2 separate regions of the Homo sapiens genome follow, and region 1 is linked to region 2. Evidence: promoter capture Hi-C in human tissues and cell types (Jung and others, 2019). All regions are on one chromosome and are shown on one strand. The core of a region is centred on a gene start or on the middle of the fragment in contact, and the rest is flanking DNA. Distances in the headings are between cores, read along the strand shown. Region 1 overlaps ADAMTS9 (ADAM metallopeptidase with thrombospondin type 1 motif 9). Region 2 holds the start of ADAMTS9 (ADAM metallopeptidase with thrombospondin type 1 motif 9).

Region 1 (6,018 bases), core at 3,202-5,701, 130 kb after region 2:
TATATTTTTATCCTCATTTAATAGGGGCAACTTGCGGCTTAGGTAGGTTAATTTATCAATGATCATGCATTTAGTAAATAATATGGCTGGAATTTGAAGCCCGGAAGCTTGCACGCTGGCACCTACACTCTGAATCATTATCTTCACTAATCCGATGCCAAATACACCTAAAGTGAATTATTTTATTTTCCTCTCAATGATTTGCCAAGCCTCTTACTGGAGAGTTGCTATCAAAGTGTATTCCCTTTACTGGGTTGTAACACCTACCCCTTCTAAAAAGGAGATTCTTGATCTAGTTAGCTATCAGACTTTAAGCCATGTCACCAGGCGAGTCTTGATGATGTTGGAGCCCCTCAGTGGACTTCCTGTTCATTGTGAAGCCCATTGGTTGTTCAGGGGAAAGGGGCCTTCTTGATACCATGAGAGTAGAGCCCAGACTTTCAGATATAGGGTAGAATAATTGGACAAGAGAAAAGTGCTCTATCCACACATCCACATCTCATTTTGTTTACATCCTAGAAACAACATGTTGTAGGCAAAATTCTGTTCAGTGTGTGGCTCTGAAAAGTTGACTCTGAATTTCTAGACTTCACTTAGCTCATCTGCCAAATGGGAATTCTATGGCAGACTTTGCTCAAGGGTCACAGTGAGGATTTGGTGAGATGACATGATTCGACATGGTGACTAGCACATTTTAGGCCATCCCAAAGTAGACTTCTTTTTAGTACGGTGGCCTTCCGATGGAGGCTTCTGGTGATGACAGCAGTTTGACTCAGCCTGCACCTTATAATGTTGGGCTTCTAATATCACCCGCCAGCTTCAGGTGAGTAATTTGTCCTCGCAGTGGTCAGTTTTACCCACTTTAGAATTATAATGCTCATGAGGCTGTTTGGAAGAAAAAAGTTAAAAAAGACTTTTTAATTCTTTTGAGAATTATTATCACAAAGGATTTACTTGTTAATAGTATCACAATCTGACATATAAATTCACTTAGAGCAGCAGAGGTCCTTCTGGTCAAATTTGAATTGTGATCGTATGGGGCCATGCATCTGCAGCATTGAGGAATAGATCTCACAGGTCCTGCATGTGTTCTTTTCCCCCTTTACCTGGAATACACTCTTCTCTTGTAGTACCTCTTCATCATAAGACCACCTTCCTCTGACCTTCACCTCAGTCACCCTTTCTTATCCTTCAGGCCTCAACCTAGATGTCACTTCCTCTCAGAAGCCTTTGCCAATCACACCACCCCACTAAATCTGAGTCAGATGCTCCTCCACTCAGCTCTCACAACACACGCAGATTACTGTACTCTGGCAGTTAACACCTGGAATTCTCATTGCCTGTTTTTCTCATCTATGTTATCAGTTATTTAAGGTCAGGAAGCTTGTTCACCAGAATCTTCTCTATCATTTAACATGGTACCTACAACATCAAAGATACCTGTTAAATGAATGAATCTGTGAATGAATGAAGGAAACAAAATAATGGATGGGTGGAAGGAAAGAAGAAAGGAAAGGAGGGAGAAAGGAAGGAGGGAAAGATGGAAGCAAAAAAGGAAGGAAGGAGGAAGGAAGAAAGGGAGGGAGGAAGGAAGGAAGGAAGGAAGGAAGGAAGGAAGGAAGGAAAAAAACATAGAACAGTGCCTGCTAATTGATGGACTTTCATCTTTCACTCTATAGAATAAAGGCATTCTAAAATGACTTTTAGAACAGTCAAGCAGGCTGGACACAGTGGCTCACGCCTATAATCCCAGCACTTTGGGAGGCCAAGGAGGGAGGATCATTGAGCCCCAGAGTTTGAGACCAGCCTAGGCAACATAGTGAGACTCCATCTCTACAAAAGATAGAAAAAATTAGCCGAGTATGGTGGCATGGACCTGTAGTTCCAGCTACCTGGGAGGCTGAAGTGAGAGGATTGCTTAAGCTCAGGAGGTCAATGCTGCAGTGAGCTATCATCAGGCCACTGCACTACGGCCTGGGCAACAGAGCAAGACCCTGTCTCAAAAACATTAAAAATAAAAAAATAAAAGCACAGTCAAACTCTGTTTTTCCTGTAAGAACAGCTGTTTTATTTTCTTCTCACAATGCCATGGACAAGCTGTGCTCAGATATGTCTGACTGTTGCAGAACTGCTCACCTCGCTGCTGTTTGGTGCGGTATGGGGACTTGGGCCACTCTGATACATACTTGGAGTCTGAGGGCTTTTATTAAGATCAGCTGTAGAATGATTTCCAAGTGCATCTCCTTAACACAGAAAAGTTAGAAATGAGCAGCAGGTCCTTGGTCAGTTGATTTAAAAGATTTTCCTGAAGTTAACAGTAGGGAATGACCAGGTTTTGATGTGCGCACAGAGCCAGATACGAACTCTTTATTGCTCATTTTATTAATTTATTCAACCAGCGTTTATCAATCCCTTGTGAAGTTCCAGGCATTAGGCATTAGGGATGCTCTAAAAATCCCAAACCACAAATAATCTGCTCTGAAAACCCCAAAATGCTGTGGTCATTCTGCTCCCCCGCTTCTCCACCCATGCCATTTCTCACCTCCAGCCACCGTGCATGCTGAGCCCCTCCTAAGAATGTCCTCTTCCCCTCCTTGCCTGGTGAACTGATGTCCTCCATCATTCTCCTGCTCATCTGCTGCTACCTGGGCCCACCTTTGCAGCATCATGGGAATTGCCCCGTTGTGTTTCCTCTTCTCTCCCTGGTGGCTTCTTACTCAATTACATGCTCTGTTACAAACACAACTGCTTACACAACTGCACAGGTAGCCCTAGGTGTTAAACCCCAGGGGTCACCAGTCAGCCAGCTGAGCTAACACATGGGAACCCAAGTTGGGAATAGCTGCCACCCTGGGTGTCCTAACAGGGAGAGAGACAGGGTACGAAGCCATGGAGGCTGCCTCCCGGGGCCCCAGCATAGACCTTGGCTCATTGTAAAATACTGATTGATTGAATGAATGAATGACTTTAAAGTTACAAAGTGTCTCCATAGTATTATTTCTGCCTCCTTCTCCCCACCGCACCTCCTAACAAATATATACTATTTGGGAGCAAAAATGTCTAAATTCTGTATACCTGACTTTAAAATGAGCTTTAAAGTAAGGACTGCTTTTTTCGTTGTTGCCATTTAAAGCAACGCTAGATAAACTGATTTGTCATTGCTGCTTCTCATGACATAAAAACCCAGGAACCCTGTGGTTCTGTGAGTTGCCGTCCATACACTGTGCAACAATGGTAACCCAGCACTAGAGAAGACAAGGTCTTTCATCCATGGAGAAAATCAACAACCTTAAAAGGTAGAGCCTGTGACTCTCAAGCGGTTTTCTTCCCCCCATGGTTAGGGAATTGCACCAAAAGATATATTTGAAAGTGTAAAGCAACTTGATTATAATCTTTAAGCAAAGAAAATTTCTACCCATTGCATTAAATGATCCTTTTCAGACCATCACTCTGTGGCCAACCTACCTGGCTGAATAAAATACCACCTTCAGGGTTTACTTTAGGTCTTCCTCACCCTCAAATTCGGAGAAGTTCTTTTCCCCCTGTTAATTTCAGCATATTTAAAGGCACATGTAGCTTGCAGAACAATGGGCGAGCTGCCCGATTTAGTCCAGCACTGTGATTATTTTCTTTCTGAATTATAGTGTGTGATGAAATGCAAGGAGGCTGGTGGTGTTACTTGTGTTAGAGATTTTTCTAAAAGCCATACTGAAATTAGAGAAAACCTTTTGGAAATTAAAATGAGGCTAATTGAACTTTCCAACTGTTTTTCAGAACATTCTAGATCATATTCCAGGACAGGGGAAAGAGTCATAAATCGTAGAGGGTTGAGGGGGAAGCCATATTACAAAAAGCTGATGAAACCTGATAGCATGGACTCGATTTGTTTTCTGATTACCCAGCCCCCATACCCTAGTTAGGATTTAAGATTCCAGGAGAAAACCCTTGCCATGTGATTTTCAGAGCTGCTGTTGACTAATTTAGGAAACACTGGGCAAGTCACTTATTTACTTAGTTTAATTTTTAATTTTGTAAAAGTTATATTCAAGGTAAATTTTTCCAGCTCCCCTTTCCACCGCTGGCAAAATAGTCTTTACAGTAGTTAACCATTCTTTAAGACTGAGAGAGAAACGCTTAACAAGCATAAAGTATTTAGGATTCATTGTATTTCTGCTCTGAACTGTTACTTATTGATGCAGATTAAAGCCTTGTGGATTAGTGAAAACAAGAGAGGATACTGGAAGGTTTAGTCCAGGTTTAGCTGCGCAATAATTAGGATCTTCTCAGAGTCACCTAAGTCCTAATTTTCTAAGGAATTACTTTTTCTATGGGTGGTTAAGTATTTGCATATATCTACACATCACAGATTAAATTTTTCTTTTCTTTTCTTTTTTAACATTCGGTGGCCCTCTATCTCACCTTTTTAATGATGAAAAAAACACTTTTTTTCTAGGGGAATAGAGAACCCCAAAACCACTGAGCTAGGGATGAGCTAGGGAACTGGGCTCAGCCGGCCTCCTGCACTAATTTGAAATGATTCTGCTCCTCCATGCTCACCTCACAGTGGTTTCAAGTTATGTTTATGCTCCAGAAAAATGAGGACTGACTCCATATTCTAGATATTGAGGTTTACTCCCAAGCAGCAGAAATTTTAAGTTTAGTTTGCAAGTGACAAGGGGCTACCAGGAAATGCCAGCATATCCCTTCTCCTTCCTAAAGGAACAGGGTAGCTCACGAAAGGCACGGGGCATACTATATGACCCAGCAATTCCACTCCCAGGTATATATACCCAAAAGAATGGAAAATAGGTGTTTAAATTTGTACATGAATGTTCATAGCAGCACTATTTACAATAGCCAAATGAGAAACAACCCATATGTCCATCAACTGAGGAATGGATAAACAAAATGTGGTATATCCGTACAACAGAATCTTATTCAGCCTTAAAAAGGAGTGAAATATTGATACATGCTGCAATATGGAAGAACCTCGAAAACATTAAGGGAGAGAAGTCAGGTAATAAAGGCCACATATTGGATGATTCCATATATGTGAAATACCCAGAATAGGCAAATCTGCAGAGACAGAAAGCAGACTGGTGTTTGCTAGGGGCTACAGGAAGGAAGGAATGGGGAGGGACTGGTGAACGGGTACAAGGCTTCCTTTTGCAGTGATGAAATATTCTGGAACTAGATGGGGTGATGGTTGCATAATATTGCAAATGTCCTAAAGGCCACTGAATTCTATACTTGTGATAGTTAAAATGGTGAATTTTATATTTTGTGTATTTTATCACCAAAAAAAAAAAGACATAGGGCATATCATAGAAGACATTTCTGAGTGAAGCTGAGTTCCAAACATAAATGCCTTTGAGGCAAGGCAGGGATAAAAGGAAAGGCTGCCCATTAGATGAAAAAGAGAGGTGGGGTCTGTAGTTCTCCGTAAAGAGACTAAAATTAGACATTTTAAAAGACAGTGTGCTAGCTGGGCATGATGGCTGACGCCTGTAATCCCAGAACTTTGGGAGGCCAAGGCAGGAGGATCCCTTAAACCCAGGAGTTCAAGACCAAACTGGGCAACGTAGTGAGACTCATCTCTACAAAAAATTTAAAAATAAGCTGAGCGTGGTGGCTCATGCCTGTAGTCCCAGCTACTTGGGACTAAAATGTAGGAGGGAAGTCGAGGCTATAGCAAACTGTGATCACATCACTGCACTCCAACATGAGCAACAGAGGGAGACTTTGTCTCAAAAAAAAAAAAAAAGGAAAGAAAAGAAAAGACAACATTCTGACCACACAACAAAAATCACAGTTGTTAGATAAGCCCGTTGCCAACAGGGTATTCAATCCCTGGCCTAAATTAAGAAACTGCAGCAGTCCTTGGTACAGGTTTCACTTAGCTCACTGGGGCTTCCCAATGAGTCTTGAAATGTTGGGTGACACAGAGGCTTTAGATACAATAGGCTTTCAGTGACCTTTAGCAACACAGGGCACTAAGGATAAACTTCAGGGGTGGGG
Region 2 (6,446 bases), core at 3,909-6,408:
AAACCATTATTACCTTCTCTTTAGGACCCGCAAAGGATACCAAAACTGCCCACAGCATAGGTGTAACTCTTACTTGCTGTGCTCAGCAATTAAGGGAGGCCCTGTGCCTTGTTACTCATGATCCTGAAGTACCCACTGGGGAAAGCCTAGCTCTGGAAATGTCTCATTCCAGAAAAAAGGAATCATGATGATTCTGATTAAAGCAGGACTTGCCTCCTAAGAGTAATAATAATACAGTAAGAAACAGAAATTACTTCAATCATTCCTGGTGTGTGTGTGTGTGTGTGTGTGTGTGTGTGTGTAAAAGAATGGCTTTTCTAAATTAAAAACAAAAAACCTGGCTCTGAAAACTAGAACCAAATTAGCGGCAACAGTAAGCTCATTTAAGGTATATTTGTGAAGTGCCTACTATGTAACCATGGAGAAAATAGATTTGTCCTTTGCCCTTGTGTACCTTAAAGACTAACAAAGGACACCAAAACACAACAACACATGTGAACCAAACTAGGAAAGGGAAAATTCTGGACTCAGGGAGCATAAAGCACTCTGGCATGACTCAAAATACTCCTAGAGTTATCAGATTCCCCGCTAGTTAAAGATGCCATATATTTAACAATTGTCTACATCAAATGTGCACTTTTAGAGAATAATAAAATTGTATTTGCACACATTGTGTTGCTAATTTGGCTGCAGTTTGGAAGTAGTTTGGATCAAAGCTAGAAGCCTAGCACTTCTGAATTCCATTTGTAGTTATGATGTTGAACCCCAGGTGTGAAGCTCTCATTTCAAGGATAGTAGAGGGAGGAGAAAAAGGATTTGAAGCCCTAAGAATACAGTCAAAGGAAAGATTAGTGGGATGCATATGGAGTTTTAAAGCCTGAGCAATAATGTGAGTATGGTCTTCTAGAATGACAAGTCAACAAGGAGCTCCTGCTGAGTGAACAGGCTGAAGATCGGATCACCTTCGTAGAACTGCTATAAGCTGGTCATGAGCTATACAGAGCCACCTCCAAAGTGGAACTATGACTTTCAGAGTAGGGTCAAGAAAAGCTAGTTAGAACTTTAGATTTAGCATTAGAAGAAAAAATGATGTTCTCACAGATGGTATTCATCAGGCCAAATATAAATGCTGAATGATGAAGATCAATTAGGCGACAGTCTTTATGTTACTAGGCTGCTCTGATTAATGGAGATCACAAGCTTTGGAGGTAACTGGACCCCAGTGTAAATCCCAACTGCACATTCTGACTCCATAATGCCAGGCAAAGTCACTTTAATTTTGCTGGGTCTTATTTTCATTGTAAGTAAAATGAGGAGGGTAAAACCCAGATGGCAGGATAGCTATGAGGATTGAATAATTAGCACAAAGAACTCAATGAAGGGAATCTACTGTTATTATCAATAATGATACAAACTACTTTCTCTACAGTACCTGTTGCTTGAAGTCAGTAGTTAGAAGACTTTTAAAAAATACACTAAGGTCATTCACTCACAGGGCAAACAAAGACAACACAGTTTCTACCTGCTGCAGTCTGCAAATAGGAAACCGGATCAGAGAGGACATAGTACACATGGTCTGGTACATAGTAAGTACTCAAGAAAAGATTCTCATTATTATTATTCAGACAAAAGATTGGAACCCAAATTATTTAGTTAGCACAATTGTCCTTTTCATTTCTTGTCATGTAAAACACATCTCCCTAAGATTCTTTAGGCCCAAGGTCACAGAGCTCAGCCAGCACCAGGTCCCAGCTTGGTGATTCACTGACCAGAATGCAGTGCTACCAAGTACCAGGGGCTTATCTGTTCCCCAAATCACCTGACGCTGCTGACCACTCAGGAAACTATTCACTTGAATTCTGGCTCCTGGGCCCTCCCTACCATTTGGGTGTGGGTTTCCCCTTTCTGTGGAAATTGATGGCTTTGCTTCAAGTCTCCTTCCTGCTGTTTCCAGTGGCATTAGGCAAACAGAGTCATTTGTGATGTCATCACTGTCATTTCCATTGGCCGGATTATCTCTCCCTAGTGACTAATATCATTCATCACTCCTCTGGGATCTAATTTTCATGACGAATCAGCCAATGAATACTTCCACTTAACCTACAATACCATTCAATTCCAGTAAAGTCCCACGAAGAAAACGGGCTAAAAACTGTCCCTCCTTTAACTCCAGGTGACCTTGAAAAGGTTTGCTTCTTTCAGAGCAAATTTTTATGAGGGGCCAATTTATTTTATTTCATTTTATTATTTCTTTTCTCTTTTTTTGTAGAGACAAGGGGTTGCTATGTTGCCAAGGCTGGTCTTGAACCGCTGAACTGACCTCATGCAATCCTCCCACCTCAACCTTCCAAAGTGCTAGGATTACAGGTGTGAGCCACCATGCCTAGTCTTAATAAATACTTATTGACTACCTACTATGTGCCAGATCTCTTCTAACTGCTGAGGGAAAAGCTGTGAAATATCAATGAAATCGCTGACATGATTTTCATTAAATACTTTGCATGAGAAGAATAAGAGAGAGCTAAAGAAAAGTTATACATGCAATAAAAGCTTGAGGCAATTCTCTGAATGATTTTAGCCATTTTCCCACAAAGCAACCCTCCAAAAATCTAGCAGTGCTTCTGATTAATCAGTTATTCATGACATATGATAATAGTTATGAACTTGGATTGAACGACTGAAACGGAGTTTGAATCGTGTCTCTCACTTACTGGATTGAGGGGGGTCAAATTATTTCACTTATTCAGATCTCGGTATCCTTATTGGTAAAATGAGATTACTGACACTGACTTCCTGAAAGAGCTGTTTTGAGAATTAAATTAAATGCTATATGTTACCCCATGGTAAGTACTGAATAAGAGTACTTATTTAGACAAAGAGTAATTATTCAGACAAAAGATTTTTGCCTGACTTGCTTAGTTAGCTCAACTGTCTTTTTCATGTCTCACGATTTAAAAGACATTTTCCTAAGATTCTTTAAGACTTTTTTACAGATGTAAATGCAGAAGCCAGCTAATACACTGAAGAAAAGATGGGTAGACTCACTAAGGATGAGAAATTCATAAACCTAGGTTCTTGGTCACCTCAGGAGTTCACCAAGAGATATTTTGTATCTTTCTGGCCTATCAGCTCTTGTGGATCAATTTTTTAAAACTGTAGACAAAGTTCATTCTTCAAGCAAAGTCCTAGAAAGAAAGCAAAGGAGAGAGAGTACACAAAGGAGGCTTCTGTCCCTACATATCGTAATTTCTATACCATTAGTTAACTTCTCTTTGTCAGGAAGGATTTGAACTGAAAGAGAAAAAAAGATTTAATGGGAAATACTGGAAAGTGCTATATTTTTGAGTAATTTTACAATGGAAGTACTGGAATATTTTCCACAGGAATCAGCCAATAGATTGATTTCTTGATATTTTTCTGTTCCTTACTAAATTTTCAGCAACTCCCAGACACTGTGATTGTGGGGAATGTTGTTATAATAAAAAGAAAGATTGTGTATTAGAAGAAACGTATTTTAGTGAATTAATTTGGAGGTTCAAGGTTTAAATGCCATTCTCTAAAAATCTCTAATTGTGCACAATACAGATGTTATTTTTCCATCCTTACATTTTACATATCCATTATGAAATTCCAGTAATAAGACGATGGTAACATTATCAATTTGGGTTAACAATTATTTAGCAAATTCGTCTTGCCAAGTCATTTTTACCCTTCACCAGAAGAAATATATGTATTAGTATCTCAAGAATAGTTGACATTGCTAGCATATTGCGATTTGGTTCCTGGTGTTGGCAATCTTTGGTATTTCTAGTCCTGAGTGCTAACCTACCACGCAACAGAACCTCAACCCCCGTTCTAGGATACTTGGGCAAATATATATTTATTAGTCATATATTTATATATTTTTAACGATATTGTCATGTCTTTCCTCTTGAAATTATCTTGAAATTCTATCTTCCTGAGGGCTGGTTAAAGAAAAGGCGCCACTGAACCACCCAAGATTGAACAATTCACACACACACACACACACACACACACACACACACACACGAAGGTGTAGCTTGAAGCGCCTGCTTTCAGTCTTTCCCAGTCTTTCCAAGCATCTCTCAGGCTGAAAGCAAGCGGAAGTGATTGAGAAATCCCTCCAGGGACTGGTGCCTCCCACAGGGATCTACAACTTTACACTCCATCCCCCCTTCCCCTCCCATCTCTAAACCCCCTGGTAGTGAGGGGCGCCAGAGTCCCCGCCCCTTCTTGCTGCCAAAATTTGTTCTTAACCTTTTTTGGGGCAGGGGACCTACAGAATGCTATGGACCCTCCATGAATGGTGACAGAGGTTGGTGGAAAGCACAGCTTAAATATTTTGCGAAATTTTCAAGAGACCACGTATTAGAAACACACTCCGACCTGCAGGATTAAGAACCCCATTTCTAAAACTCTTGACTTGGGGTGATTAAATCGAGAGCGGAGCTCAGGTGCCAAATCTCTTCCCGAATGAAAAAGTGTAGGAAGGGAAGGCGCTCCGGCGCTGGGCCACTTTCACTTGTAAGAAACCAAAAGATGGGGACTGGTGGCAAGAGATGGGGACGGAAGAGAAAGGAAAGGAAAAGGAGAAATGTGAGAAACAGACAGGGACACGGTGGGGCGGGGAGAAGACAGACATCACAGGGGAAAATGGGGAGAAGGGACAGAGTCCGAGAGGCACAGCAGCAGAGAGACAAGGGGGAGGAGGAAAAAGAGACTCGGAAGGGAGGAGAGAGAGGAGAGGAGAGGAAAAAGACGAGAGGGGAAGTGGCTGCACGCGCGCCAGGAAAGGGAGAGAACTTTCCCTGCTTTCCCTCCCCGGGGCAGGGAATCTCAGAAAACCCCACTTCAGCGAGGTGGCGGGGACCAGGAACAGCTGCCCCGGCGCTGGTGACGCCTCTGGCCTCCGCCTCTTGCAGCCGGCAGGGCCTCCGGCTGCGAGTCCCGCACGGGCCGGCCGAGGAGGGGACATGGTCTGGAAGGAGGCGGTCCCCGTTCGTCTCGCTTTCTCCTCCCCTCTCCTCCTCTTAGAGGCGTGCACCGGGGGCATTTGAGAGGCTGTGGACCCGCGGCCCCCCCGCCTCCGCCCCCCCAGCCCCCCATTCAAGAAGCCGCTCAGCTATCCCGGCCAGCACAGGGCGCCCGGCGCGCCTCGGAGCGCAAGTTCCTCGCCTTCTCCTGCCCGCTCGCTGGGCATTATGCGGCCAAGCAGCCGAGCCCCAGTCCTCCTCCTCCTCCTGCTCCTCCGGCTCCTCCTGCGGCCCGAGCGGCTCAGCTCTCGGCAGGCGGCGGCGTTGCTCAGCCGAGCGCAGACGGGACCCTCGCAGCGAGACCTCAGCGACTCCTAAAGTCAAAAGTTGGCGGCGGGCGCCGGGCTCCGCGCGCTCTCCACGGCCGCTGCCTCGCGTCGCCGCCGCAGCCAAGGAGGGCAGGAGGGAGGGGGGTGGGGGCAGCGGAGGGAGGGGTGGGAAGCACCATGCAGTTTGTATCCTGGGCCACACTGCTAACGCTCCTGGTGCGGGACCTGGCCGAGATGGGGAGCCCAGACGCCGCGGCGGCCGTGCGCAAGGACAGGCTGCACCCGAGGCAAGGTAACCAGGCTCCGGCCCCCGGGACCCCGCCGGCCCCGACGCCGCCTCCCGGTCCTCGCTCCTGGGCAGGGGCACCCCGCAGCGGAGGCTTCTCTCCTTTTCCTAGAAAGAATTATCTCCCGCTTTGCAGCCTCTCCCTTCTTTGGGTCATCCCCAACCAATTGCTAGGGAGGGACACTATGGAAACGAATTTAGGCAACCCCCCCCTACCTTGCTGTTGCCAGATATATCCCCATCCCCACTCCCACGCCGCAAACTAAAGTAACTTAGTAATTGGGGGCACCAGATAGCGTCATGTTTTATTTTATTCAGGTTATTTATCAATATCTGAAATCATATATATTTTGACTTGTTAATTGTCTGGCTCGGAATAGTGTATCCTCAGCACCTAGCACAGGTCCTGTTACTGGCACATAGTAGGTGCTCAGCAAATATTTGTCCACTGATTAAGGGTGAAGGGATTGACTCGAATGGGCTGGAAAATAAGGTCAGAACAAAGTCCCCACCTTCGTTTTAAATTAAAGCTTAAGGAAAAATGAATTATTGGTTCATATACCTCTGCTTCTCTCCGCAGTGAAATTATTAGAGACCCTGAGCGAATACGAAATCGTGTCTCCCATCCGAGTGAACGCTCTCGGAGAACCCTTTCCCACGAACGTCCACTTCAAAAGAACGCGACGGAGCATTAACTCTGCCACTGACCCCTGGCCTGCCTTCGCCTCCTCCTCTTCCTCCTCTACCTCCTCCCAGGCGCATTACCGCCTCTCTGCCTTCGGCCAGCAGTTTCTATTTAATCTCACCGCCAATGCCGGATTTATCGCTCCACTGTTC

Evidence for each region. The method cuts DNA at HindIII sites, captures the fragments that hold promoters and counts their contacts. A contact is called where the count stands out against the background at its distance.
Region 1: a fragment that was not itself captured here is called in contact with the fragment with the promoter of ADAMTS9 in region 2 in 1 of the 25 tissues and cell types used here (aorta).

The regions. Positions count from the first base shown.
Region 1 is chr3:64,552,322-64,558,339 of GRCh38, reverse strand. All of the region lies in intron 30 of ADAMTS9 (ADAM metallopeptidase with thrombospondin type 1 motif 9), which reads left to right. Among named protein-coding and RNA genes, the nearest start is that of ADAMTS9-AS1, 6.0 kb to the left of the region's middle. The HindIII fragment of the contact is 7,412 bases long and covers 746-6,018 here.
Region 2 is chr3:64,686,712-64,693,157 of GRCh38, reverse strand. It overlaps ADAMTS9 (ADAM metallopeptidase with thrombospondin type 1 motif 9), which reads left to right and starts at 5,158. Exons shown (of 40, transcript NM_182920.2): 1 at 5,158-5,615; 2 at 6,190-6,446. The coding sequence starts at 5,501. The region is part of intron 1 of ADAMTS9-AS2 (ADAMTS9 antisense RNA 2); the gene reads right to left. The HindIII fragment of the contact is 6,670 bases long and covers 1,876-6,446 here.